Regions from separate parts of the Homo sapiens genome. Here region 1 is linked to region 2. Evidence: promoter capture Hi-C in 16 types of primary human blood cells and fetal thymus (Javierre and others, 2016). All regions are on one chromosome and are shown on one strand. The core of a region is centred on a gene start or on the middle of the fragment in contact, and the rest is flanking DNA. Distances in the headings are between cores, read along the strand shown.

What was found. The method cuts DNA at HindIII sites, captures the fragments that hold promoters and counts their contacts. A CHiCAGO score of 5 or more calls a contact.
Region 1: a contact is called between a fragment that was not itself captured here and the fragment with the promoter of RAB43 in region 2, in 1 of 17 cell types (total CD8 T cells). The highest score is 6.3, in total CD8 T cells.

The regions. Positions count from the first base shown.
Region 1 is chr3:128,123,442-128,127,968 of GRCh38, forward strand. RUVBL1 (RuvB like AAA ATPase 1) reads right to left here and starts at 371. Exons shown (of 11, transcript NM_003707.3): 1 at 143-371. The coding sequence starts at 283. RefSeq lists an enhancer at 123-172 and a silencer at 363-422. The HindIII fragment of the contact is 5,560 bases long and covers 1-4,030 here.
Region 2 is chr3:129,119,093-129,123,650 of GRCh38, forward strand. It overlaps RAB43 (RAB43, member RAS oncogene family), which reads right to left and starts at 2,712. Exons shown (of 3, transcript NM_198490.3): 1 at 2,194-2,712. The coding sequence starts at 2,397. All of the region lies in intron 11 of ISY1-RAB43 (ISY1-RAB43 readthrough), which reads right to left. RefSeq lists an enhancer at 796-1,741 and silencers at 2,522-2,701, 2,722-2,941. The HindIII fragment of the contact is 2,447 bases long and covers 1,525-3,971 here.

The DNA of each region.
Region 1 (4,527 bases), core at 1-2,500, 1.0 Mb before region 2:
CTGGCCCATTTTCACTTCCCTGAGGAAATAATGGCGGGAGACCCCTGGCGCGCGCATCCCGCCCCGAGCCACCGACTTCAGCAGCTCTCTCGCCGCAGCAGCCCTGCTTGCAGCCCCCAACTCCCTGGTCCACTGGCCACACCTCTCGCGCGTTCTCCTGGCCCACAAGCCCTGAGGCCGCCTGCTTGGCCAAGCCGCTCTCGTCCAGCCCCAGCCCTTTCACGTGGCTGTGGGAGGCGATGCGCTGCGTCTTCGTAGTGCTCTTCACCTCCTCAATCTTCATTTTGCAGACGCCGGGAGCTAAAACCAGCGTGGAAAACCAGCAGCTAGGACAGTGCGCCCGGCGCCTGAGTTACCATGCGGCCGTTACTAGGGCAATTTGCAAAGGCCCGCCTAGACCGGCTTTCCATTGGTGGAAGCGGGAACACCTCCGCTCTCCATAGGCTCACGGCTGCGCCCATCGCGGCTGCTGCTAGAGCTCCGGTCACCCACTTCCGTCTGTGTCTCCGGGTTGGCTTCCCCCGTAGCCGGCGCTTCCTGCCGAGGCTGGGGTCGGGAGCACAGTGGGACCACGCCCCGGATTTGATCTAGGGCTGGGGCGTTGCACGAGGCAGTGGCCCCCGGGTACCACTCCTAATCCTTCCGTCCTATCCATTAGCACATTTGAACGTCATACTCTTACGCAAATCTCAAGTTATTATTTCCGTTTTGGAAACAGAAGAACTGAGGTTCAGAGCTTAAACTGGGATTGGTTACTAACCAATGTTTTCTGACTCCCATACCTTTGCATCTCCCTGGAAAGGCCCAGCTCAACCCACCACCGTTTCCGTGGAATTGTCTTCCCCTGCTTCTATCCTCCATCCTCCACCGAGAGATAAGGTTCCTGCTGAGTTCAGTTGACTGTAAATAACATTTTGCAGTTTTCAAAATTCCACAGCCCTGTAAGGTAGTGTAATTACGCATGCAGCTACAAACAAGCGGAAAGAGGCCCATCCGCCCAAGAAAGCATCACAAATAATCAGAACTAGAAATCTTCAGGCTTCAAAACCTATATAATAATGCTCATCACGTCCCATGACTCCAGCTGAGACAATCAGCCAGCAAATTGTCCCTTCAGGTTTCATAATGATATTAGCACAACCTGCACCACAATTGTACTTGCCATCCATCCATCCATCCGTTCAACAAACACGAGCCAGACACCACAATGCACTGGGGATACAGGGATAAAAGTCTTGATGCGTTTACTTCTTGCTTAGAAAACTTGCAACGTGAGATGTGCTGAGACAGGTACACCCAGGTGGCGAGAAGACCAGAGCAGAAGCCCCCGGAACAGCCTGGAGAGCCAGGGAAGGCATCATGAAGGTGATGTTGCCTTGGCTGAATTCCAACAAATAGGAGAGATTTCCTCAGAAGCAAATGGTATGACACCATTTTTACAGAAGAGGATACTAACATCCAGAGGAAGGGAAGGACTTGCCCAGAGTGCAGGAGAGTTTATGTTAGAATTGAGACAGACCTGAAATCAAATCCAATTACAGTAGTTCCACAGTCTCACACCGCCTTTTTTTTTTTTTTTTTTTTTTTTTTTGAGACGGAGTCTTGCTTTGTGGCCCAGGCGGGAGTGCAGTGGCGCAATCTCGGCTCACTGCAAGCTCCGCCTCCCGGGTTCACGCCATTCTCCTGCCTCAGCCTCCCGAGTAGCTGGGACTACAGGCGCCCACCATCACGCCCGGCTAATTTTTTTGTATTTTTAGTAGAGACGGGGTTTCACCGTGTTAGCCAGAATGGTCTCAATCTCCTGACCTCGTGATCCGCCCGCCTCGGCCTCCCAAAGTGCTGGGATTACAAGCGTGAGCCACCGCGCCCGGCCTCTCACACCTCCTTGTACATCTTGATTCTAACATTTGAATCTAGGTTTCTATATACTTTTTTCTTTTCTTTTGAATCTAGGTTTCTAATGATTTGCATAATTACTGGGTCAATGTTTTTCTCTCCCAGTAAACTGCAGGCCTTTTGAGGGTGTAGACCACATTTGATTGTTTACCATTTTAACCTAAGTGCCTGGCACACAGCCTACAACACAGCTCACAATTAAGGCTTCTCATGAATTCAATTAAGGTTCTAGACCACACACAAACACATACACTTGAATTCATCAGTTTTGCTGCATGTATTTTACACGTTGGCTTTTATAGGACTTGGTAATGATTTCCATCAGTGAATGGAATCTTTTGGCATTTTCAGGGCCTAAAAGAACAGAGGCCAGGCCTTGGAAGGCTGAGGTTGTTACTAGGGCATGTGGTTCATCAGCACTAGAGACAGCACCCCACAAAGTTGCTTAGCCCCTCATTGACTTGTTCCTGGTCATTACTCTTAGAAAAGAAGCAATTCCTTTCTCTATATGGAGAAGGAAACTTTTCCACCAACTAGTAGTCAAAGTGAGGCATTCTATGGGACTGACTTCTTTGTGTATTGTCCAATTAAGGAAAAAGACTTTTTTTACACTTATTATTTCAGCCCTAGTCTTTGTATCTTTTGGCACAGAAAGAAGGATTTCCTTCTAGTCCAAAAAGAGAAAGGGAGAATCAGGATTTTAGAGCACAGAGGAATATCCCCTGGATTACTTGGTCTAGTGGTTTTCAAACCACATTCCCAGCAGTTGTGGAATCCTTTTGTGGCCAGTACGGGTGGGGACAGGGAATGCTGAGAGTGTAGGATACCAGCTCCATGCCCCCACTTCCACCAGAGTTGTTCCTTTGTGTGTGTGTGTGTGTGTGTGTGTGTGTGTGTGCTAAATAACAGTTCAAACATCACTGATGGGCCAGGGGCGGTGGTACACGCCTGTAATCCCAGCACTCTGGGAGGCCGAGGCAGGTGGATCACCTGAGGTCAGGAGTTCGAAACCAGCCCGGCCAATATGGCAAAACCCCATCTCTACTAAAAATACAAAAATTACCTGGGCGTGATGGCAGGCGCCTGTAACCCCAGCTACTCAGGAGGCTGAGGCACGAGAATCGCTTGAACTCAGGAGGTGGAGGTTGCAGTGAGCCGAGATCGTGCCATTGCACTCCAACCTGGGCAACAGAGCAAGACTCATCTCAAAAAAAAAAAAAAAGGTCATTGATCTGGCCTAGCATTCTCATTTTACATGTGACGGAACTGAGGCCCCAGGAAGGGACAGGGTTTGTCCAAGGTCACAAATTGAGCAAATGCCTGACACAGATCCAGTGTGTAAAGATGCTGGACCTGGCTGCAAAGTCAGACAATTTCTTTCATTTCAACAGAAAACAATGTGGCAGGCCAGTATCCAAGCTACACAAGTCCAATAAACAGCAAGTGAGGCCTGCTGCAGTGGACAGGGTTATTCCTGACCAGCGTCCATCCCACTTCTGCGCACCACCACTCTCGTTTTCCTTCAGGAAATGACCGTTCTCCCACTTTGAGTCTGCGTAGTTTGGGCGAACTGACCCCACACCCCATGTTTGTTTCAGTGGTAAACACGTGGCCCTGGCCTGACCTATCAGTATCCCATCCTCTCAGACACTGTAATTGGCTCAGAAATGTGAGCAGCTAGTTCAATGACAGTCAGTCCTGGCAATTTACTGGACATATCAGGAGAGAAAATGTAGGTAATGGATCTGCAGGCTGGTCTTCTTTGTTACTTCATGGGGAGACTCTACCTGAGAATGAAGCCAAGACAGAGGAAAGGAAAGCTGACAGAAAGAGATTCCCGATGAAATCCTTTATATCCCTGCATCATCCTCGCCTTACTTGCAGTGTAACATGGCATTTACTTTGGGGCTTAAGATGTTTGAGTTAGATTTCTATCTGTGGGTACTGAAAATCCATATCAATGTAGTGACACATATGTAAGTAATTGTGTGGACTACTACATTCCAGAATTGTGCTGTGACAGCCCTAGACCTGCCAGCTCTCATTCCCTCACTCCCACGACCCTCTCATTCCCTTACTCCCACGACCTTTGCTCTTTCACCTCCAGGCCTTTGACCTCTCTTTCTCCAGCCCAAGCTTGATTATCTCAATCACTTGTTTCCTGACCCTTCTGCTCCCTCCTTACCTTGACTTCTATCACACCTGAACTTTGAACCCACAAGCCCAGGTCAAGCCTCCCTCTGCCTTCTTCACTGCCTCCTGAGGGCTACTGTGTGTGGCAGGATGCAACTACCCAGTGGTGCCCTGTAACCACTGCACAGTCATGGTCTCCAGCCTCAACTGGAGCAACCCAAGTAATGATTAAATGTTGTTATTTGGCCAGGTGCAGTGGCTCACGCCTGTAATCCCAACACTTTGGGAGGCCGAGGTGGGCAGATCACTTGAGGTCAGGAGTTCGAGACCAGCCTGGCCAACATGGTGAAACCCCATCTCTACTAAAAATACAAAAATTAGCCAGGCATGGCAGCACACACCTGTAGTCCCAGCTACTCGGGAGGCTGAGGCAGAAGAATTGCTTGAACCCAGAAGGCAGAGGTTGCAGTGAGCCGAGATTGCGCCACTGCACTCCAG
Region 2 (4,558 bases), core at 1,462-3,961:
TAACACCTCAAGTGGTGAAGGTTTACCGTGTGTAAATTAGACCTCAAAAAACTTGACTTAAAATCACATTGCCAAAAGACTACTCAGAGGCACTTTACAGATGGAGGAGGGAAAATGGCTTGCTCCTGCTGCGGCAGCGGACCCCAGGAAGCCTGACTCGAAGGACAGTGTTCCCTCAAGTTCACGGCTGCCCAGCTTTAATTTGGAGCCTCTGCAGTGAGTTAGACTTCAGGTTTTCCTGCCGGCAAAATGAGGTGGTAAACAATTGCCAGAGGCTTCCCCACCACAGACAACGGGATTCTGAAAAGCTGTCCACTATGGGGGAGAAATCTGCTTTGGAGTCAGAAAAACTGGGAAAAATATTCCCACCTCTATCACTTCTTAGCTGTGTGCCCAGGCTCCATCCTGTGTGAGCGGGGGTAAGAATTCCCTCCAGTCAGCAGAGAATGCACCTGTAACCCAGCTGATTCCCAACAGCCTCTCAAGAAGGTCAGCGGCTATAACTTGGAGAGGTGTTTACCACAGCTACACAGCTCTTCTGCTCCCTGGGCCCCGGGCTGCTTCCTAGGAAGGACAATCTGGAGGCAACCATAAGGAAAGAAAATAACGAACTGCCTGGCCCTGCATTGCATAACCCGTGCGCAGTAAACCAGGAGCTCTGCTGGGACACAGTCTGTTATCTCAACAGGTAAACAGGAACCCTGCCCCCTCCCTGACCACCGTCAGCACTGGGCCACCACAGACACTCCAGACACAGACCGATAGCACATGAGGAGGACACCACTGCTCTTTAGCCTGTATTTTCACACTCCCATTTCCCTGCAGCTGCTGGCATCATCACTGGGCACACTCAATAACGGACACTCCACCCACTCCAGCCCTTCCCTGGCTACCTGCTCCAAAAGGGTGGTCCCGAGTGACTCAAAGCTGCCTTCTGCACCTTGCTCTTTTCCATCCACGGAGACCAAAACACAGACCCCAGAAGACGATTAAAATATAATAATAATAAAACCCCTCAGGCAGGAGTTTCTGCTTCCCCGTCACATCTACTGAGAGGCACTGTGGACACATAAAGACTGTTGACTTACTTTTTTCTCCACCTTGGGGCAGGAGGGAGGCAACACCCAGAAATTATCCCAATTTTATAGAAACAAAGACAAAGAGCTACATATCCTAGCCAAAGGCAACAAGGAGCAGGCCTAGAGCCACCCGGAGAGGCAGAGCCCAGCAGCAGCAAGGCTCCAGTGACTCCCATCTCCCTGGCAGAGATCGTCCCAGCCCTGTGCCCTGAGGGTGTCCTGAAGATCATGGGGGCTCGAAACCATGAAAGCAAGCAAAGATTTCTGTACAGTGCGGTTCAGAAAAGTTACTGAGTGCCTTCAGCCCAGGATCTCCTGGTTGATTAGGGAGTACTAACACCTAGGTTAAGAAACTCTGATTTCATTCATCACAAATATTTATCAAACCACTGCCAGGACATTGTGGCAACCACATCCTGCTGTTTTTATTCGGAGCCATTGCCAAAGCTTGGTTCTCTCCCCCACCTTCCGGTATCTGTGAAGTTTTCAGTTTCTATCAAACTCCAGCTGGGGGAGGGAACCGGGGCTGGCCCTAGTCGAGTAAAGTTCCACCACCAGGTCCACAAAGAGACTGCAGGGAGGCGTGGCCAGGCCGGAAATTCTGACAAAAAGTTTTGGCCCTCTGGTCCTAAAAGCAACTACTTCCTGATCGCTCCTAGTCCTGGGGTGGGGATGCAGTTCTCTGGCTGAGTGCCCCGCCGGTGGGCTGAGCTGGGGGCTGCCATCGCGGTGGATGGAGGTGGGGGGTCTGATCTCCGCACTCCAAGGCGCTCCGCTAGTACCTGGAACAGGGGAGTCTAACCCCCTGCCTTCCAATGGCTAAAGTTATTTTGGAGCACAGTCCCCTCCTAGGGTGTGAGCTCCGGAGGGCAGGGCCGCCTCCTCCACACTCCCTCGCCCCCCCCCCCCCCAGCAACCCACGGCCGGCGCTTTGAGGACTTGAACCCGGCCCAGACCCCGGGGCCCAGGCCTGCTCCGACCCGAGGAAGGAAAAAGGGGAAGCCAAAGGAAACTTCAGATGGACGCGGGGTGCGCTCGCCGCGGCCAGGGGCTCCGCTGCCCCCGCCCCACCCTCCGAGGGAGCGCCTTCCAGGGGCCCTGGCCGGCCTCCCACCTTGACCCGCTTGCCCTGGATCTCCAGCGTCTTCATGGTGAAGTCGACGCCGATGGTGCTTCCCTGGCGCTCCGAGAAGGCGCCGGTCTTGAAGCGCTGCACCACGCACGTCTTGCCCACGCTTGCGTCGCCCACCAGCACCAGCTTGAACAGGAAATCGTACTGCTCGTCCGGGTCCCCCGGGCCTGGGCCCGGCCCTGCCATGGCCTAGAAGAAGCCGAAGGGCCGGCGCTCTGGACGCTGGGACCGGCCTGAGCTCACGCAAGCCGCGGGCCGAGCTCCGCCCGCTCCAGCCCACGGGCCGCCTGGCTACGTGGAGCCGCCGCAACACCTGAACCCCCAGCACTGCCGACCGCCTGCCTCGGCCTCGGCCCCGCCCCACCCCGGCTGGCTCCCGCCCCGGCCCGGCTCGGCCCCGCCCGGACCCGGTGCCCCGCGGGTTCGGCTCCCCCCCGGACCCGCCAAGCCGGGCCCTCCGCAAAGCTCCGGCCGGTCCTCAGCTCCGTGCCACACCAGTCTGGCCTGTAGGCCCGCCCCAGCCCGCCCCCGCCCGCCCCCGGCTCCGCCCTCAGGCTGGCACCCACTCCGCCCCCAGCCCAACCCTCGGGCCCACCTCAGCCCGACCCGGGTTCCGCCTACGTCCCCGCCCCCGACTCCGCCCTCAGCTCCGACCTCGACTCCGCCCCCAGGCCCACCTCAGCGCGCCCCGACTCCGACCCGACTCTGCCCTCAGCCCGACCTCGACTCCGCCCACAGGACCACCTCAGCCCGCCCCGACTCCGCCCTCAGCCCGAACTCGACTCCGTCCCCAGCTCCGACCTCGACTCTGCCTTCAGGCCCACCTCAGCCCTCCCCGACTCCGCCTTCAGCCCGACCTCGACTCCGCCCTCAGGCCCACCTCAGCACACCGCCCCGACTCCGCCCACAGGCCCACCTCAGCCCGCCCCGACTCCGCCCTCAGGCTCACCTCAGCTCTGACTCCGCCCCACCCGACTCCGCCCTCAGCCCCGACCCCAGCCCGACCCCGCCCTCAGCACCTCGGCCCCTCCTCCATCAACACCCCGGCGCGCCCACACCGCGGATCCGTCTGGCCCCCAAACCGCTGCCCACCCCGACCCTTCATCAGCTGGGACCCCCAGGTGCTGTCCCGCGCCTCCTGCTCGCCCCCCACCCAGGCCTGGTCCGCCTGCCCGGGATCCCCTACCTGCTGCCTCCCAGACCGCCGGTCAGGGACAGGCGGAGACCATGGCTGGAGCTCCGGGCCTGCAGGCCTAGACTAAGAATGACCCCCTCCGGAATGGATCACGGAGGAAGGGGACGACCACAGCAGTGTCACCTGAGTGCCCACTCTGACAGGCGGGCAGTGCAGTCTCCGAGAGTGGTGGGGGTCGCTCTTCCCAGGGGCGGAAGGGAAGGGAGGGAGCAGGCTGCAGAAGGCCAGAATCCAGGCTGGCTACAAAACTGCGGAGGAGCCCAAAATCCTTGTGAGGAGAGGACCCAGGGCCCCATTTGATGGGAAGCTAGGCCAGAAGGAGGAGCTGGGAGCTCTTGTCTCCAAAAGGCAGCCTAGCAGTGGTTGAAGCAGCTGCTAAACGGCTGGATGACCCAGCTCAGAGCAGCTACAGGCCCATTTGGGAAACTGACCCAGCCAAAAAGCACCAGTCTAGGAAGAGGAACAGAAAAACTTGAAGGGATTTCTGAGGAAGGGCAGACCAACTCCTGAGTTGGCCCAGTGAACCAGGGCGCCTCAGAGAAAGGAGACCCAAACATCTGTAAGAAGCTTATACTAGATCCAACAGGACTGGGCTTCCCAGCTCCGAAGATGGGAAGGAATTGACAGCACCCCTTACCCCTCTAGACAGCTTCCTTGTGGCACTCCAATTCCAGGTATTCAACATATTTAATGAATGGCTACTACAGGCGGGCATTGTCCTGGGGCCTTGTAATGCACCTGTGGACAAAGCAGACAAAAATCCAGGAGAAAAGGGGAAAGTCTTCAAGCTGAAGGAGACTTCGCAGAGAGCAAGTCCCCCAGTGCCACTGTGAGGACCCCAGCCAACCTTTCAGGTCAAGATAGAAAGGGACTGAATGAGCAGTCTGCAAAGGCAGACCCCGTGGAGAAGGCAGAAGAGTTGTTTCTTCTGAAAGTTTGAACTCCACTCCCATGGGAAATACCCAACAGAATCAGACAGGAAACCCCAAAGTGCCACTGAAAAGCAATTGAGAGCCCCACTTTGGTACACCTGATGGGAGCGGAGAGTTAGAGAGGCAGGAAATAACCTCCACTCCAGGGTAGAAGTAGACAGGAGATGGGATGGAAGGTTTCTGCATGCTGGGACTAGCTCAGGTCAAAGTCCAGAACTCC